Linked DNA regions of Homo sapiens: region 1 is linked to region 2. Evidence: promoter capture Hi-C in human tissues and cell types (Jung and others, 2019). All regions are on one chromosome and are shown on one strand. The core of a region is centred on a gene start or on the middle of the fragment in contact, and the rest is flanking DNA. Distances in the headings are between cores, read along the strand shown. Region 1 has its middle 88 kb from the start of SOD2. Region 2 holds the start of RSPH3 (radial spoke head 3).

Region 1 (3,115 bases), core at 580-3,079, 610 kb after region 2:
TAATGTGTACAGCAACCCCCCGGGACACGTGTTTACCTATGGAACAAACTTTCACATGCGCCCCCAAACCTAAAATAAACATTAAACAAATAAAAATAGAAATAGGATGGAATTCTGCTTTGCCTCCTTAACATTATGAGTTTTTTCATAATCTTCTATTTTGTGTGTCTGATATTTGAATCTTTGAAATGTTTGATCATTTCAAACACCAGCTCTATCTTCTCCCTCATCATGGGTATCATGTTATGGAATTCACTTCTCCCTTCTTCTCTGCACACTTAAAGGTCTTCACAAAAATGTTTAAATCTCTTTACCCCCTTTTGTCTATGAAGTTCTTTATCCCATAGAAGGGGTGACAGGCTAGGAGGCTGAAGGACATCATGCATTCTGACAGAGAAATAACACTTTCACTACAAACTGAAAAATGTACCCTCTTGAGTCAGTATTTCCCTCGTGCTATTTACACAGTCCTATGAAATAAGGAAACGTGGAAAGATCACTCTACCTTGAGGGCCCAGAAGAGTGAGCGATGGCCCTCTGGCTTCAGGGGAGCCCATGGTTAGCAGGCCACTTAACAGGAGAAGCCCTTCCTGGTTTAAAACTTCATCTGTTTCATGTTATCCTCATTTCTTTCCAGACCATTCTTCACCCTCCTTGCCTTCTCCCTACTGGCATCTCAGGCCTGACGTCACGGCTGTGTGTGAGGTGTAAATGTGTGTAGTGTGAATGTGTGTGTGGCGTGAATATATATGTGGTGGATGTGTGGTGTGTGGTGTGTATAGTATGTATGTGTATGTGGTGTGTGGTGTGAACGTGTGTGCAGTGTGTGTGTGTGGTGTGAATGTATATGTGGTGCATATGTGGTGTGTATAGTATGTATGTGTATGTGGTGTGTGGTGTGAACGTGTGTGTGGTGTGTGTGTGTGGATGATAGGGGTGGTGTGTACATGGTGTGGTGTGTGTGTGTTTGTGGGTGGGTGTGTGTGTGTGTAGGGGGATGTTCCTCTGGTTCTCACAGCCGCCATGTCAATGTCTTGTTGACGCAAACCTCTGTCTTGGAAGTCAGCTTCTGTCTCCACTGCCAGGTTTCTTGGAGCTTTTAATATGCCAGTGTGCATCATGGAATGTAGTACTTGACACAGGTGCTTATTGGCAGGCAGGGGCCCTGCTGGTCCCAGCCATCAAGTTATCTCTTCTTCTTTAATGTGATGAATACACCTCTTTTGGAAGCCCTATGTTGCCCTCAGAATCACCAAGGAGCATGCAGTTAGTGAGCAAAAATTAAATACCAGCCTCTGGCAAACCTAAATCCAAATATGTCCCCATTACTAAGTACAGTATAGTAGCCCTATAGGCAATGGATGGGACTAACTGCATATAAATGACCAGCTTTGTCACCCAGGTTAGAGTGCAATGGCATGATCTTGGCTCACTGCAACCTTTGCCTCCTGGGTTCGAGCAATTCTCTTGTCTCAGCCTCCTGAGTAGCTGGGATTATAGGCATGCACCACCATGCTTGGCTAATTTTGTACTTTTAGTAGAGACGGGGTTTCACCATGTTGATCAGGCTGGTCTAGAATTCCTGACCTCAGGTGATCCACCTGCCTCAGCCTCCCAAAGTGCTTTCTATCAGAGCATTTTGGAACTTAAAAGTTGTCCTCACTGTTGAGTTGTAAAGATACTTGTCTCAATGGATTAGCATCCTACGTGTTCTGCCCTGAAATGTAACCTTAGATAGAAATCTAAGCTTGAACACCCATTGCTCTGCAAGTCCAGGACAAGAGTCTATTGCCAAAACCCTAGCTGAGTTTTCCAGAAAGAGCCCATCTGAAGACTAGGGATGTTCTATCTTCCTCTAATTGCCTCCTAACCTCTTCCCCATTCCACCCTACCAGATCATTCCATAATGGAGGAGATGAATGCTTTTATAATCCATTAGAGGAAACCCATAGAGGCCTCACCCAAAGCAGATCTGCAGTGAGCATTTGTGTCTAATAAAGATGCTGAAAACTGCCAACTCACCCTCATCAGAACCAGGTGAACAAAAAAAGGGGAAGGGTACTTAATGTGTGTAAGCAGTGCCAGGCAGTGACATAAGATAACTTGTTTGTACCACAAACAGTTCCAAAACATAGGCTTCATTATCTGTTTTACAAATAAGAAAACTCAAGCTCAGAAAGGCTATTTATTTACTTTTTATTATTATTATTATTATTATTATTATTATTATTATTATTATTATTAGAGATGGGATCTCACTGTGTTGCCCAGGCTGGTCCTGAATGCCTGGATTCAAGTGATCCTCCTGCCTTGGCCTCCCAAAGTGTTGGGATTATAGGCATGAGCCACCATGACCAGCCAAAAAGGCTACGTAATTTGTTTATGATCACAGCATTAAAAAAGCCATAATTTGAATTCAAGTTTATTTCTCACCTAGAAGCTTAAACTAATTCCACTATATCCGCTGCTCTGTGCGGTACTTGTTTACGAGGCAAATGAGAATAGAAATGGTTTTTTGGATCAACACCTTTAACCAGGTTGGAGTTTCCTTCTATTTTTAGTTAACTGAGAGATGTTATCATAAATGAATACTGAATCTGACAATGCTTTCTCTTGGTCTATTGCAATGAAAACATGATTTGACTTTAGGTTTTTTTTTTTGTTTTTGCTATGATATTTTGTTGTTTTTGTTTTAGTTTGTTAATGTGGTGAATTATACAGTTTGATTTTTACATTTTAAACCAATTTTGCATTCCTAGGATAAACTCCAGTTGGCTATAACATGTCATTCTTGTTATATATTGTTGGATACAATTTACTAAAAATTTGTTAAGAATTTCTGTAACTATTCTCATGATGATATTAGTCTGTAGTTTTCTTATAATGTCTTTGTCTGGTTTTATTATCCTTTATCATTTATTATAAGGTAATGCTAGCTTCACAGTGTGACATACGAAGTACTCTCTTCTTTAATTGTCTGGAAGAATTTGGGTAGAACTGGAATAATTTTTTTTGTAAATAATTGGTATGACTCATCAGTGAAACCATCTGTGCTTGAAGTTTTCTATGTGGGAAATTTTATAGCTACGAATTCAATGTTTTTAATACATACAGG
Region 2 (3,246 bases), core at 637-3,136:
AAAAAGAGCCGGGCGTGGTGGCGGGCGCCTGTAGTCCCAGCTACTTGGGAGGCTGAGGCAGGAGAATGGCGTGAACCCGGGAGGTGGAGGTTGCAGTGAGCCGAGATTGTGCCACTGCACTCCAGCCTGGGCGACAGAGCGAGACTCCGTCTCAAAAAAAAAAAAAGAAAAAAAAAAAGGCTTATGTTTTGTTTTTTTTCTTTCCTATGTATGTTTGAATATTTGCAACTGTTCATGGATGTAAAAACACAAACTGCCGTCCGGGCGCGGTGGCTCACGCTTGTAATCCCAGCACTTTGGGAGGCCGAGGCGGGCGGATCACTTGAGGCCAAGAGTTTGAGACCAGCCTGGCCAACGTGGCAAAACCCTGTCTCTACTAAAAATACAAAGATTAGCCGGGGGTGGTGGAGGGCGCCTCTAGTCCCAGCTACTTGGGAGGCTGAGGCAGGAGAATCGTTTGATCGGGGAGGAGTGGGGGAGGGGGGCGGAGGTTGCAGTGAGCGGAGATCGCGTCATTGCAGTCCAGCCTGGGCGACAAGAGCGAAACTCCGTCTCAAAACAACAACAGCAACCACCACCACCACCACCACCACCACCACAAAAAACCAATCTGTGGTCCTGCATGGAAGAATAATCTTACTCCTGCTCAAAGCCTGCCGAAGAGATTTACTCGGCTCCCATTTTGGATATGCTACTGTTGGATATCTTTGCACCGCGGTCTCCTCATCTGCATAATGGAGTTATAAAATCAACTTCACAGCACTGTGGATTAACTAAGAAAACGTATTTGAATGCCCCCCGTAAGGTGCTCAGCACGTAGTTGGCCCTCAATACACACTGGTACAATTCAAACTTTGTGAAATGAGCCAATTCGTGTACATGTTAAGGACCACGGCAGCAACTCATATCACTAAAAGTTAACTGATGCCCAACCCATGCCCCTTCCTGCTTCACTCCTCCACACCACGGGAGATTCCTTAGGGCAGAACTTTTATTTCGGCAGAGTGCAGCCAAGGGAAGACAGCATAAGCAGCTTTTTTGCCAGGGCGAAGGGGCCAGACCCCGGCCTGGGGATGGGGTGCAAGTATGGACCACACAGGGGCTGGCTTGGTCACTCACGGCTGCGTCAGGCTGTCCCGGTAACGGCTGCGCTGGCAGGGCAGTGCTCGGGGCCGGCTGGTGTAGGTGTAGGTGCTCGGGGCCCGAGAGGTGCGATCAGTCAGCGCTGAGGCCATGTCCGGGGGCTGACTGCCTCGCTTTCGGTGGAGCTTGGCTTTGAAGCAGGTGGGCGCTAAGGTGTTGTGGGACCCGGAGAGATGTAAGTAGTGCCAAGGGCAAGGATTCCGCGACGCGAGGAGAGGCGACAACAAGGGAGGCGGGCGGGACGGGAGGTTACCAGCGCAGGAGGTGGGAGCTATACTGGGCTCGCTCCCAGCACCACAGAGACCAGCTGCGGGGGCCGCATCGGTTGCCCAGCAACCCAGGGTTCTGTCTGGGGGCGGGAACTCCGGGCAGTTCCGGTCCCCAGGTTTCCCGGGAAGGACTGCGGCACAAGGGACTTCCGGCTCTTGACTCCGCCCAGCCGCGCCACCCAGGTAGGTGCGCCTGCGCTTTGCGAGGTTCCTGGCTAGGGAGGCGGCCTTGGCTGGCTTGACCGTCATCCTTGAGGCCTGCGGGGCAACGGTGGCTGTCCTTGGCCCGGCTTTGGAATGTGGCTTTGCAGGGCTGGTGTTGGCGCCATTCTCGCAGGCCCACGTGCTCCTGCTCTTCCAGGGTGTCCTCGGCTGTTTCTCCTGCCGCGGCGCAGCAGCGCTCCCAGGCTGCCCCCGCGATAACACGCCCCTGGCAGCCAGGCTCCCAGCTCTGTTACGTGCCCGGGCGGGGAAGAGCTTCCTGGTGTCTCCCGGCTCCTGCCCTTCTCCCGCCCCAGGGGCGGGCTGCCGCCGCCCTCTGCAGCTGAGTCAGTGCAGTTCCTCACCTACCTTCTCTGCTCACCGCTGTGTGCTAGCAATCGGAGGACCCTTGGCACACGGAGCGACAGGGGCCTCCCCCACAGACACCTCATTTTGGGAAAGAAGTGAGCAATTTATTGAGTCTTAAAAAATACAAAGGCATAGTTCCCCTTAATCTATCAGGCTTCCAGCTCTAAAGAATGTCTCTAGTATTGCGGGGTGGGGCTGCGCTTAAAAACGCAGACGCTTTGGTTTTAGTACCAGCAACGTTAAAAATCTTCTATCTTGTATGAGTGAATGTGTATCCCTTGTGATCAGTTATTTGCATTTGCAGTTACACCTTCATTCAGCTAATTGCTGTCTTGATTTGAATCCAGGTTCTAGAATGTACTAGCTCCGAAACCTCAGGCAAGTTAAATGTTTTTGTGCTTCATTTTCCTAATCCACAAAGTGGCAATAGAAGAATTTATCTCTTTAGGTTTTGTCTTGAGGATTAAAACCGTTAATACTTAGAGCTGTGCCTGGTAAATGGCAAGCCTTTATATTAAGATCTGGACCGTTCTGTGCTTTGAAGTGTATGACCTAAAGCAGATGTAGGCATTCTATAAGTAACACTAGCATAAAGGTGTATGGTAAATTCTAGAGGTGAAAACACTCCCAACATATTTTAGGTCTGATCATTTAATTTTGAGGTAATTTCTGAAAGGGCTAGAGGAGAAAGTGACATTTAAGTTGTGTTTGATAAATGATAGTATTTTAACTGGCCAGCCTCTTGGGGGAAGTGCATTCGGAATGGCTTGATCAAAGGCTCAAGAAGCCCAAGGTGCATTTGGAAAACTGTAAGCAAGGTTTGTGTAGATGAGTTGTAGAAATATATATAGACAGGCTGACACCACATCGTGGAAACAGTAAACACTAGCATATTAATTAGAATATTTTTTCCCTCAAGTAACAAAAAACCAATTCCAAGTGGCTGAAATAATAAGGAATTCATTATTTTACACTCCCCAGGTTGGTTAACCTGGAGGGTAACTTGGGGGCTCAGCACATTATCAACAACACGTTTTTTCCCCTACCTTTCCACTCTGTCACCTGGGTTGTTGGCTTCAACAAAGTAGTAATAGAAGTATCTGCTCTTTTGTCTTTATTGGAAGAGCAAAACCCCCTCGTAAACTCCCAACTGACCAGAATTACATCATATTGATTTAAGCTTAGGATCTATATAAGACCACCATATTTGGATTAGACCAGGTAACCGGTCTTTCTAGGCCTCCAAGAAACACTTGGCCAGGGA

The links. Contacts are between HindIII fragments. The study calls those that stand out against the background at their distance.
Region 1: a fragment that was not itself captured here is called in contact with the fragment with the promoter of RSPH3 in region 2 in 1 of the 25 tissues and cell types used here (H1 embryonic stem cells).

The regions. Positions count from the first base shown.
Region 1 is chr6:159,603,942-159,607,056 of GRCh38, forward strand. No RefSeq gene overlaps it. Among named protein-coding and RNA genes, the nearest start is that of SOD2, 88 kb to the right of the region's middle. The HindIII fragment of the contact is 4,798 bases long and covers 1-3,115 here.
Region 2 is chr6:158,998,316-159,001,561 of GRCh38, forward strand. It overlaps RSPH3 (radial spoke head 3), which reads right to left and starts at 1,887. Exons shown (of 8, transcript NM_031924.8): 1 at 1,120-1,887. The coding sequence starts at 1,235. It overlaps TAGAP-AS1 (TAGAP antisense RNA 1), which reads left to right and starts at 1,558. Exons shown (of 5, transcript NR_183546.1): 1 at 1,558-2,077. RefSeq lists enhancers at 630-1,601, 1,086-1,235, 1,256-1,305, 1,336-1,405, 1,576-1,735 and 2 more. The HindIII fragment of the contact is 9,808 bases long and covers 1-3,246 here.